3 separate regions of the Homo sapiens genome follow, and all the other regions are linked to region 2. Evidence: promoter capture Hi-C in 16 types of primary human blood cells and fetal thymus (Javierre and others, 2016). All regions are on one chromosome and are shown on one strand. Each heading gives the region's core, a stretch centred on a gene start or on the middle of the fragment in contact. The rest is flanking DNA. Distances are from core to core; before and after follow the strand shown.

Evidence for each region. The method cuts DNA at HindIII sites, captures the fragments that hold promoters and counts their contacts. A CHiCAGO score of 5 or more calls a contact.
Region 1: a contact is called between a fragment that was not itself captured here and the fragment with the promoter of CCDC85A in region 2, in 1 of 17 cell types (M0 macrophages). The highest score is 5.4, in M0 macrophages.
Region 3: a contact is called between a fragment that was not itself captured here and the fragment with the promoter of CCDC85A in region 2, in 2 of 17 cell types (M0 macrophages and M2 macrophages). The highest score is 10.9, in M0 macrophages.

What each region holds. Positions count from the first base shown.
Region 1 is chr2:57,310,516-57,314,768 of GRCh38, reverse strand. No RefSeq gene overlaps it. Among named protein-coding and RNA genes, the nearest start is that of VRK2, 730 kb to the left of the region's middle. The HindIII fragment of the contact is 3,110 bases long and covers 1-2,840 here.
Region 2 is chr2:56,181,215-56,185,260 of GRCh38, reverse strand. It overlaps CCDC85A (coiled-coil domain containing 85A), which reads right to left and starts at 1,271. Exons shown (of 6, transcript NM_001080433.2): 1 at 361-1,271. The coding sequence starts at 636. The region is part of intron 1 of LOC100129434 (a long non-coding RNA gene); the gene reads left to right. RefSeq lists a silencer at 1,272-1,601. The HindIII fragment of the contact is 6,654 bases long and covers 1-1,884 here.
Region 3 is chr2:57,353,649-57,357,795 of GRCh38, reverse strand. No RefSeq gene overlaps it. Among named protein-coding and RNA genes, the nearest start is that of VRK2, 690 kb to the left of the region's middle. The HindIII fragment of the contact is 1,948 bases long and covers 1,228-3,175 here.

The DNA.
Region 1 (4,253 bases), core at 36-2,535, 1.1 Mb before region 2:
AATCATTGAAGCTACTGTGGATATTTTATCTGTAGAAGACAGAGTTAAATGAAGATGCAATAGCTGCTTAAATAAGTTTTTAAAAGCCAAGGAGAGGATGATTACTTGGGGGACAGATTTTGAGGGCATGCAGTTGTGAGGTAGAGTTTATGTCAAGCTGCAGAGCATGAATCTGGATGTAATATAAGATGCAGGTACTGAGTTGATTTAAAAATCATGTAGCTATTAAATATTCTTTCCACCCACAGACACACACACAGAGAAGAACAACAAGAACAAGAAGAGAATTGCAATGATGTGAAGTAATGTATATGTTAATTAGCTTGAATTAGCTTGATTGTGGTGATTATTTCACAATGTACATGTATATCAGATCATAAACTTGTATATCTTAAATGAATACAACTTTTATTTGTCAATTATACCTCATTCGAGCTGGAAAAGTAATAAAATAATTCTGTTAGAATCAACTGGCTATGTAAAATTTGCAAGAAGCAGTATTAAATATTTTATCATCTGTAAATTGTATACTACATATTGTTTATATTGGTAAAATTTGTAATCAATTTATTATTCAGGATTTTCCAGAAAGACCCAATGAATAGTATATAGATATGTAAACAGATAGATACATAGATAGATAGGTAGTTAGATAGATAGGTAAATAGATAGATACATAGATCATAGAGAGGAGATTGATTAAGGGGATTCGTTCACATGACTATGTAGGCTAAGAAGTCTCATAGCATGTTGTCTGAAAACTGGGAAGCCAGGGAAGCTGGTAGCATGGCTGTTCAAGACCAAAACCCTTAGAATCAGAGAAATAATTGTGTAACTCTGAGCCCAAGGCCAAAAGCCTGTGAATGTGGTAGGAGCAGGAGGTGAGGGCATGCTCGTACAAGTCCAGGAGTCCAAAGAACAAAAACCTGGCATTCTGATGCCCATATCCAAAGGCCAGAGAAGAAGGCTGTCCCAACTTCAGAAAACAAAGAGTGAATTCTCCTCTCCACTGTGTTTTTGTTCTATCAGGGCTCCCAGCCTATTGGATGGTTCCTGGCCCATAGTGAGGTGGGATATTCCCCACTTGGTCCACCAGCTCACGTGCCATCTCCTGTGGAAACACTCTCACAAGACACACCTGCTAATACTGCTTTACCAGATACCTAGGCATCCCTTAATCTAGTCAAGTTGATATTCTAAACTTATTTATTACAGGTATATATTAATAAAAATGAATAAAGGCCATGTGAAGAGTCCAAATAAGATATGATCCTGAAAAGGACGGGTAAAGATGTAGAATTCAGATGCATGGCACAAGACGAAAACGAGGAAGACCAGATCAAAGCAAGTTACTGTGTTTCAGGGTAGTAGGAGATAGATAATCCTAGACTATCTGGGACAGATACTCAACTTAAAAGCTACCCTGCAGTCAGGGTAGGTAAGGAGCTTATACGAATGCAAAACCATCTCGAAGAATTGTGTAGAAGGAAATATTATACTGAATGATAAATGAGATTAACTTCTATAAGATTCTCAGTTATATATTACATTTTTAATACTTGAAATTAAGTCCATGGGTTCCTACTGGACTGTCAAGATATTTATCTCAGTAATATTTTGAAAAATTGGGACAATTTTGATTATCAGGTTAAATCAGATATTAAGTTAAAAGGCACATATTCTGCTAAGATACTATCAATCAAGCATATTTTAGAACTCCAAACTAAGAAAGTTGTGTAGTTTTAATTACTATCCACAAGATATTTTAATGCTGGGCCAGGATATCCTATAAACCAGAGTCCATATAAAATTCAGCTAGTTTTTGCTATCCTATTGAGCTCTGTGACTACTTTGTAAAAATAATCCAAGATCGAATATAGATTTGATCTTGCAAGGAATCAGAGAGTCCAGTATTTTAGCCATTTGGGTAAGCAAATGGGGCAAAACAATTGATGAGTTCCAGTTATATACTATAATTAATGAGTAGTCATAGCGACTAATATGTGTCAGCTTTCTCTTTGCTGGAGGAAGAAAAACTTAAAGAAGTTGGAAGGTCAATATATTCTTTATTGTTTATACATGCATATACATTATACTTGTGTGTGTATCTGTGTGTATACACACATATACAGATATATATATACACACACATATACAGATATAGATACACACACACACACACATATATATATATAAACTAGATCTAAATTCCAGAAATTGCAAGATTTTAGAAAATCATATTTTCAAGATAGGTTTTCTTTAACTTAGATCCTGGTAGTGAAAATACATTTGCAATCCTAAAAATACCATTAAACTAGTTTCATTAGGACTTAGAAATAGTTTGCAGCTCAAGTAGAAAAGAGATTAAACCTATGTCGTATTAATGAGTAAAATCTCACCTTGTTTATCTTTTGATGAAGTAACATAAATCAGTTCTCTCTCAGTACTGACTTTGAAAATGTATCCTTCATGTTTCAATCAACAGTCAGCCCTGAAATGAACTTATAGCTGCACCTAATTTATCTTCCTCAAAAATCTGGTTGTTGAATGTGTTGAATTCATTAGGCAATGAAAGGGGGGATGGGTACTTTTATTTTTATTCATGCATCATTACAGGACATGTAGGAACCTTAGAAAATTCAAGATGTATAGGATCAAAGTTGTTTCAGAAGACAAGAAGATGCTGAGACTTTGATTAGAGTTTGGAGTTCCTCAAATTCATTGGAGGTTGTTTGTTAAAAATTGTATCTTTTTGTTTGTGTATGTGTGTGTGAGGGAGAAAGAAGGGGGTGAGGTTGACAGAGAAAAACTGTTATGTCTCTCTAATTAGATGGGAAGCTTGCAAAGGTAAGGAAATATGTTTTGTTTACTGTTATATCCTCAAAAATTTACAAAATGCCTGAGACAAAATAGAAGCTCAATTAATAATACTTGAACACTTAATGGCCAATTAATAACACTTGGATGAACCTATAGTAAATATATTATCCAAGAGCTGTGTAATATAATGTAAATTCTGTTCATTTTTCCATTTCTACAAGATAATTTTATTAAAAAATCAATTACTATTATTATGCTCCATCAGTTCCTATTTCATTTAACTATGGAGAGGGTTTGAATAATCCAGACCCTAGTTGGGTTAGACACTGCTAAATTTTGCGTTTAGAGCAAGAACCAAGCAGCATGATTCACTCGTTACGTTTTATTTTTATGCAATTCTATACCCAGATATCTTTGTTTTATCAGCGGCTCTTGTAATGGTAGAGAGCTGTTGACATCAAGCTTTCCTCAATTCAATTTTATTGGTTGTCAGTTAACCACCTTATCTATGTATTAGTTGCCCATTGTTTTGATTTTTGAGTAATATTTTATTATTTAGGTATTCTACAATTTGTTTTTTCATTCACTACCTAATGAACATTTCTGGGTCATAATCCAATGTATTTATTTATTTATTTATTTTTACTTAAAATGTTCTAATGTTAGCCCTTAGGAGCTTTTTTAGGTTGTTTTCTGTGCCATTTAAGCATATCTCCAGACTTTTTTGGATATTTCCTTATTCTCCGACAGCAGAAGATACTCCTAATCATCAGGTGAATCAACCACTTCAAGAATCTTTGATTCCTTTTATTAGACAATGCATGGTTTGTCTTTTCATTCACTTAGCAGGATTTAGTTCACTTATTCATGAAAAAATAGGTTCTAATTTTGAATAAGTCCAATTTATCTATATTTTTCTTGTAATGGGTACTGTGGCACAAAACAGACCTTTTTTCTAATATATGGCTGTGAATATTTTTCTCTATATATTATATAATTCATGAATTATAGTTTTAAATTTTAGATTTCAGTCTATGGTTCATATTGATTTAATGTTTGCATAAGTTTAGATGTATGTATTGAAGTTCCAGTTAGTTAAGCACCACTAGTTTTGTGAACAAAATTTTCTCTAGTGAATTTCTTTTGCATTGTTACTAATGAATAGCAGACTGTATGTTATGTGTATATTTATGTGCTCTCTAATCTGTTCTATGTTGTTCTTTTGCCCAGAACACGATAACACATGTAGAGCAGAGCACTGTGCACCAGTTACTAATGCCAGAAGAGGACTCTCACTATATGGAGGGTAATGAAGATCATCACAATACCAGCCACCAGGAATAGAAGTCCAGATACTTCTGCCCACTGTCTGTTAGTATTGGAGTCACCAAAAAATCACAAGTCAAGTACTTGGTGGAAAATTACTTTACTCA
Region 2 (4,046 bases), core at 22-2,521:
CTCACTGGCCTTTCCGCCTAACTGACTGAAACCCGGCTCCCCAGGCACAGATTTTCCAGCCTCCCTAAGAAATGAAAGGTTCGCGTGCCCTTCACCTCCCTCCCTGCTTTCCAGCGTCCTCAGCGCCTCCCCGAACAGCCAGACAGTGGAGCGCCCCGTGTTGGGGAGAGGAGGGGAGCAGACGCCTCCGAAGTTTGGAAAAGTTACACAGGGGCTGGGGACTGGGGGTAGGGGGTGCCGACCGGGAGAAGGGGAGGGTCACCTGTTGAGGGAGGGAGGGAAAGTTTGCCTGGCCCCGCCTCCTCCTCGGGGCACCCCGCTCCCAGCCGCGCCGCGCCTCCCCACCTGGCCCGCGCTCACCTTGAGGCCGCGGATCTCGCCGAGGTGCAGCTGCAGGCGGCGGTTCACCTCGCGGATGAGGTTGCTGTGGTCCAGCATCGCGCTCACCTTCTCCGCCTCGGCGCGCCGCAGGCTGCGGATCAGCTCCTCCTTGCTCCACTGCAGCAGCTCCTCGTCCGACACTTTGGACAGGTCCTCCACCGGCGCGGGCGGGGCCGCGGACGAGCCGGCCGGGGCTGGGGAACAACTTTCCGCCGCCGCCGCAGCCGCCGCCGCGCCTCCGGCCGCCTTCGACATGGTATCCGCGGGGTGGCAGGTGCAAGTGGGTGGAAGAGGCGAGGCGACTCCCGAAGGCGCGGGCGCGGCGAGGCCGCCTCCGCCCACACCCCTGTGCGCTCCGGCGAGTCAGCGGCACCGCCCAGGGGCCGCTGGGTTGGGGCGGCGGGGGTCGCGCTGGGTGGCCATCCTACCTCGCCATCCCCGCGCGCGCGCCCGCGCTCCCCCAGGGCCCGGCAGCCAGCCGCTTGCTGCTGCCGAGGCCCGTCCCAACTCCGCGCAAGTCCATGGTGAGGGGCACTGGGGAGCCCGGGGCTGCCGCGGGAAATCCTCGGGGACAGCGGGGGAGCTGCACCGCCGTTCCCCTGCCCTCTCCTCCGCCCTAAGCCGAGACTGTCGCCCCCCGCACTCTCTGCCCTGCACACAGGCGTGCACGCACACGCACTTTCCTCCCCCTTGCCCAGCTGCAGCCCCCGGCTTCTCCCCTCTCCTAGCTTGGAGGGCGCGCCGGGCACCGCGGCGCCTCCCCGGCTGCTCTAGCGACGCCGCCGCGGCTGCCCGAAGGCTGCTGCGCTCCTCCTGCCGCCTTCGCTGCGCCCGCGGCCGCTCCTAGGCTGCTCCGGAAAGCCTTCGATTTGCAGAGCGGAGTCGAGAAGGGGTGGAGGGTGGGGGACCGGCTGGAGGAGGAGCCTGGAGCTGGGGCCACCCGTAACCCGCAGCAGCTCCCGCATGGGCTGGACGCAGCTGCCACTCGACCGCTGCCCGGGCCCTCGAGGTGCGCTCCCGGCTGTCCTGCCCGGGAGGGCTGGGGGCGCGGCTCTTTCTGCGCCCGGGCGGGTGGGGCTGGAATGGGGAGAAGGTGAGGAGCTGTGGCCGCCCGGTCTTTGGGAGGCTCGCGCGCGCCACCGTGTGGCGGAAGAAGCTCCCTCCTCTGCCCTCTGCACACCGGCCTTGTCACCAGGCAGGGGAAACAGCTGCTGACCCAAATGCGAGGTGCTTCGTATTTGGAGGGATCGGGGATCAGGAAAGATGGGGTAGCAGGACCTGAGGGATAACCAGTTATTTGCACTTTGGAGAATGGGAGGAGAGGCAAATGGCAAAAACGGGGGTTGGGGAAAGGGGCAGCTTAAGAAAATCCAAATGGTCTGAAAAGGGCGAAAAGAGGCGTCAGGGCACTGCTCTTATGGGGCTACCCATCCCCACCCCCCACTCTCGCCCCACCCCTAGGCCTTTGTGTTTTCTAAAAATCCACTACTCTATGAAGAAGCTTCGGGAGAAGGTACTGGATCTTTTAAATTTTTATTTGAAAAATATCAAAGCCTTTAGGCGAAAATAAAATACCTTCATCTCCTGCTTCCTGAAACCTGGATTTTAAGGTCAGCACAGTCACCTCCCCTCGGAGCAAAGCAAGCCCCCTCAGGCAAGCTGAAATGCCAGCCAAGGAGATTTCCATTTTCTTCTATGCCGCAGGCTGCCAGGCGTTTACTGGGTCGGCTTTTTTATGATGGTTATTTCTGGAAGGAGGAAGTCTGAGTCCCTGGCTTCTATCTTTGGGCTATCCTCTTGTAAAGTTGGGTGGAATCGTCTCTGGGCTGAAAACATGCTTTTGCCTAAAGAGGTGGATGCCCTTGACCACCGCATGTTATTTCCAGTGGGGTACAGGGCCGGAAAATGGCAAGGATCTACCCCCACCGGGTTTCAGTTAACCCGGGTGCAGAGGGAATAATCTCTATCTGGTAGGATGATAATCAAAATCAGTCCCTTCACCCGCCGGTCAGTGCGTGTCCCCTATTGGGGACACTGAGACCTGGCTCCCGGGAGAGGCAAGGAAATGTGGTACTGCTTACGGTGACCAAATGGCCTTAACATTCCCCTCAGCTTAACTAAACTTTAGACAGGTTTCTTCCTAACTGTAGGCCCCAGACCTTCCTTTTCTCAGAGCATTTACTTTAGCCAACTTCCATTGGTGAATGTTTCCTCTGACCCTTTGACATGTAAATCTCTCCGCCTCTTGCTGGGTTTTACAGCCTGGGGATCTTTCTCAGGGATCTGTGAGGCATCCCTTTGAAATGTAATCATCAAGGAAAAAAGGGTCCCTATCTCCTAGTGTTTGTGGAGAGGAGGAGCCTAACTTTAATAAGTTCCAATTAGGAAACACAAATGGCCTCATTACACTGACCAACTTCCCATCCTAATCTCCTCCACTAGTCTTCTACTAGTTCCCCTCTCCCTCCCTCTCTCTCTTCCCTATTGCAATAGCCTTGAATAATTCCCCCTTGTCTGTTTAACTATATCGGATGCAATTTTTCTTTGACACCTCCAAGCCGCTCTCACGCCCACAGAAGGCTCTGCTCAACACAGTTCCTAAGACCAGTTTTGTCACAGAAAGGGAAAGTGAAGGTCAGAAAAAGATAAGTCCTATCTCTGTTACTTGTTAGTTCTTGTCCTTGAACAAACCATCCGACCTTACTGGCCCTCGGGCAGCTAATGATATGGTATACAAGAAGCGCTTGATCGAGCCACCCTACAGAAATGCAACCTTACTATTACTGATATTACATATTACATTGGGCAGCCTCTTGTCTAGAAATAGGAACCAGGACTTCTGTTTATTCCTCCATCACGGGTTCTTCAAGAGTCGTATTCTAAAATGAAACAGCCAGCCCCCTTCTCTGCTAACTCCCTCTGATCAGTTAACACCAAATAGATATGAGAAATCAGAGAGATGGCTGAGAGGAAAAATTAGACTTGTGTTGGGAAGACAAGGAAGAAGGAAAGCCAAAAAAAAAAAAAAAGTCTCCACAAATTATATACACTAGCAGTGGATTACAGTTGAGCTAGATCACCTTAAGGTTTTCATGTTTCTAATTTTGGTCATTGATTCAGAATAATAATTATCTGCATGAATGAATAATGTTGCTTCATGTTGCTAAGGTCATGTATGGTGTCAGGAGCTTCATTTGACTGCTAAAAACAGAAACTCAAAAAACAGTCACTTTAAAAAAGTCATTTATTTTTTCTCACCTACCTGGTATTCTAAAGAGAGGCAGCTGAGGGCTGGTATGGTATCTTCATGAGGTCGTCAAAATCTTAGGCTCCTTCTCTCAGCTCAGTCCCCTTTGGGATGATTGCCTCGTGTCCATAACATGGTTGGTGGAACTCTAGCCATCCAGCTACGTGTAAGGCAGGAAGAAGGTAATAACAACTGCAAAGGGGCACATGCCCCTTTAAAAACTTTTCCTGGTGGCCGGGGGCGGTGGCTCATAACTGTAATCCCAGCACTTTGGGCGTCCGATGCAGGTGGATCATTTGAGGTCAGGAATTCAAGACCAGCCTGGCCAATATGGTGAAACCCCATCTTTACTAAAAATACAAAAATTAGCTGGGCATGGTGGTGCGTGCCTATAATCCCAGCTATCGGGAGGCTGAGG
Region 3 (4,147 bases), core at 952-3,451, 1.2 Mb before region 2:
TTACAGATGAGAGAGTGAAAACCAAACAGGTTTGGAGTCATGGCAAAGATTACACAGTGAATGATAGAGGTCTAGCTGAGATAACAACTAAAGACACCCAACACACACAAGGGCTTATTCCATGTTATTAGAATTGATTCTATTTTGGATAATTAAGAATAGAAATCTGACATTTCTTGGCTGATTTCAGCTGGGTGTGTACACTAGATATGCATGTTTTAAATAAGTGGCACAGCCTGAGTTAAACATTCTCTTACAAGAATTTCAGCCCAAGAGACACTTGTGAGATTGCTTCATAAAAGAAATCTTGGCAGCTCATCCCATCTCAATTGTAATTTAAAAGAAATTGCCCATCAATTTTGTATATGCCTTCATTTGTGCCAAACAACTTTATCATGTCAGAGACAGCAAAAACGATTAATTTACTTACATTGCATTCAGTAAGTCATCAGGGGAGGATCTTATTTTTTTTCCATGTACAGAATTTCTAGAAAGTGCCTATTCCTCTAAAACATTTTCAGGTTTAATGAAATTTTGGTTATAACAACAATTTAGCATCGTAAAAGCATAATACTGAGAGCTGCTTTTAGAATTCATCAGAAATAAGACTTAGGATTTAGACAGATAATAAAGTTTTAAAATAATACTTGTGGCTAGGTATTATTTTGAGAATGCCAAGTAAGTGGCATCAACATTATTTAGATTCCTTCCATCTTCACCTTTCCTTCAGTGAAAGTCAGAAAACCAAGAGATATATTTACCTAGCTCTAAGTCTGTATTGATTTGTAATTTACAATGCTCAATATGAAACTAGTTATTACTATACAGAGCAACTGAAATTGTGTTGTCTGAAGCTATTAAGTACATTCTGCAGAAATAACATAGGCCCAAGCAAAGTTAGAAAGTCCTAGTTTATGGTGAGAACAAAAAATAATTTCTAACTCTCAGGGTAGCTCTCTTTTCACTCCATATTTATAACAAATGAAACTGGGAGCTTAGAAAGTGGACAATACCTCGTCATGCTCAGTGCTGTGGGGAACCAGGGATGCAACTGGAACAAGAGCTTATTGAAGTGTTTATTTATTTATTTTTCCTCTAGGGTATCCTTGTTTCTTTTCTTAACTAAACCATTAAGTTAAATTTGACTCCTTATCATAGGTTAGATATCAGAGAATGTTAAGAAACCAAGTACAACTGAAAAACTCTCCATTATTATAACGTTAAGCTTAGGGTAACCCTTAGAATAATCATACCCACCTGAATCCACTGACACTAGTCATTGCAGAAGCACTGCATTCAGTAGATTTACTTTCAGTTTTCAGGAGATAATAAAATTATAAATACAGGATAGCCTGCACATTGAAAGAAATGCAGATATTATTTTCCAAGTCTGAAAAATAAGGGTTTTTTTGAAAGTTAAATACAGATATTCCCTTAATAGCTTGAGTTTTCCAGTGTTGAAAAATTCAGTATTTAAAATTAAATTTTGATGTTTTATCTGTATTTTTACTGTAGAAAATTTACATTTTTTACAAAAATGATATGCAAGTAGTTTTTGCTGTTTAGTTATAATAATTATGGTTTGGTGCAGTGGCTCATGTCTGCAATCCTAACAGTTTGGGAGGCAGAGGCAAGAAGATTGCTTGAGCCAGGAGTTCAAGACCAGCTTGGGCAACATAGTGAGAACCTCTCTCTAAAAAAAAAAAAAAAAAAAAAAGTAAGTAGATGGATATGGTGGTGCATGCCTGTAGTCCCCGCTGCTTGGAAGGCTGAAGCAAGAGGATCACTTAAGCCTGGGAATTCAAGGCTGCAGTGAGCCATGATCCCACAACTGCACTCCAGCCTGGGCAATAGAGTGAAATTCTGTCTCAAAAAGGAATAATAATTTGACAAGTTAAAATGTTTTAAGCAGAGGAAATTGAGAACATTTCCACGTACTCTCAAGTCAACTGAATATCATAAAACCAAAGAGCATTTATTTAGATAACATCTCACATTTTTGGAACATCTGAGGTTAAATTATAGACATGTAGTCAAGTCCTTTCACACTTAACATCACTCTTTTCTCATTCTTTTTTCCTTACAAGTAGAACTTTACTTTTTCACTCTCTTTTTAAAATTTTCCTATACTACCAAATAGATATGAATTCCAAGATGATAATTATGCTTGCTAGTAATTTGCACTTACAAGATATGTCAGAGTATGTAAATGTGCTTTTTCCTCTGAAAGCCCTTTGACTGTCTTGCCTTCTTCTGAAAACTTTTTCTACTACCTCCTCAAAATGGAAAAAGCTAAGGTATCTGTCAAACTATTTCCAAAGAAAGTTCATTTGTATATATAGCTCGTAAAAGCAAAAGTGTATGCTGTACAAGAAGCAAAATGTACTTGAGTACTGTTCTCTAGGTATTTTCTAAGAGATTTAAACTCCATGCTCACTATGTGGGTAACAGGTTTATTCATATACCAAGCCTCAGTGACACACAAGTTACCCATGTAACAAACCTGCATCTGTACCCCCGAACCTAAAATAATAAAATAAATTAAATAGACAATAGATAGGTAGATAGATAGATAGATAGATAGATAGATAGAACTGGCAAAGGACATAAAGTTCACTGAGAATCAGATTCTCAGGAGTACATACGAGCTAAATTTCTTTCCAAAACACACAAATTTAAAATTTCCCTTGATAATATTTGAGAAATTCGGTTATTAAAACAGAGAAGCAAAACAGGGCATATAAAGTAGGAAAACTTAGCGGATTTATTTTAAAAAATATTGAATGCTACCTTCTCTAAGTGTAGAGTCATGTAAGAGGAGTAAATTCTGTTAAGATTACTCTATTTGGCTTTTCTTTACTAACTTTGGTTGTGATATAACCTAAACTTGCTTTTTAGCCTAGAGATTTTAACTGCGTCATTAATGTATTATCAGACATTAAAGGGTAAGAATAAATTACCTCAAAGGCCTTATAATTACCTTTCCCATCTTATACGTGCTCCCAACCTGGAAGTAGACAAACCAATGTCAATGTGATCATCATTGCCATAAGCATTCCAAAATAACTAACACTCTACCTTTCAGAAATACTGATTTCCCATCAGCAACATGTAGTTCTTTTAAAAACAAAAGGCATATTTTACTTTTTATTTCCAAATATAATCTCAGGAAGCTTTATATTTTAAGAAATTATTGTATTTGTTTCTTGGTAAATCTTAGCTACTTATTTCCACACTAGTATATATAGGTTGGCTTTCTAGAGAACATATAGATGCCTTAATCTTCCTCTCATCGCTTGAAATGCAAACATTTATGTAAAAGTTGGCATTTGTCAAGATGATCATAGAGTAAACAAAAAAAAAATGACAAGAAAAATAAGAGAAAATGGGATTAAATAAAGAAAATTGCTTCCTTCAACATTGAATCCCCTTGAAATTGTTGGAGCTGTATCAAATTGAGTAAGTGACTTCTTAACGTTGTATTTTTGATTTCACCTTACCTTGGAAAATGAAGAATAATTATTTACTATACTTGTACTTTTTTTCTTGATTGAATTATTTATTAATTTTTTTGCCTATTTATTGACTGAAAAACTAAGCAAAAATAACAAACCTGGAGACATCACACTACCTGACTTCAAACTACACTACAAGGCTACAGTAAACCAAACCACATGGTACTGGTACCAAAGCAGATATACAGACCAATGGAACAGAACAGAGACCTCAGAAATAACACCACACATCTACAACCATCTGATCTTCAACAAACCTGAAAAAAACAAGCAATGGGGAAAGGATTCCCTATTCAATAAATGATGCTGGGAAAACTGGCTAGCCATATGCAGAACACTGAAACTGGACTCCTACCTTACGTATTATACAAAAAATAACTCAAGATGGATTAAAAACTTAAATATACAACCCCAAACCATAAAAACCCTAGAAGAAAACTTAGTCAATACCATACAGGATGTAGGCATGGGAAAAGACTTCATGACAAAAACACCAAAAGCAATTTCAATAAAAGCCAAAATTGATAAATTGGCTCTAATTAACCTAAAGAGCTTCTGCACAGTGAGAGAAACTGTCATCTGAGTGAACAGGCAACCTACAGAATGGGAGAAAATTTTTGCAATCTACCCAT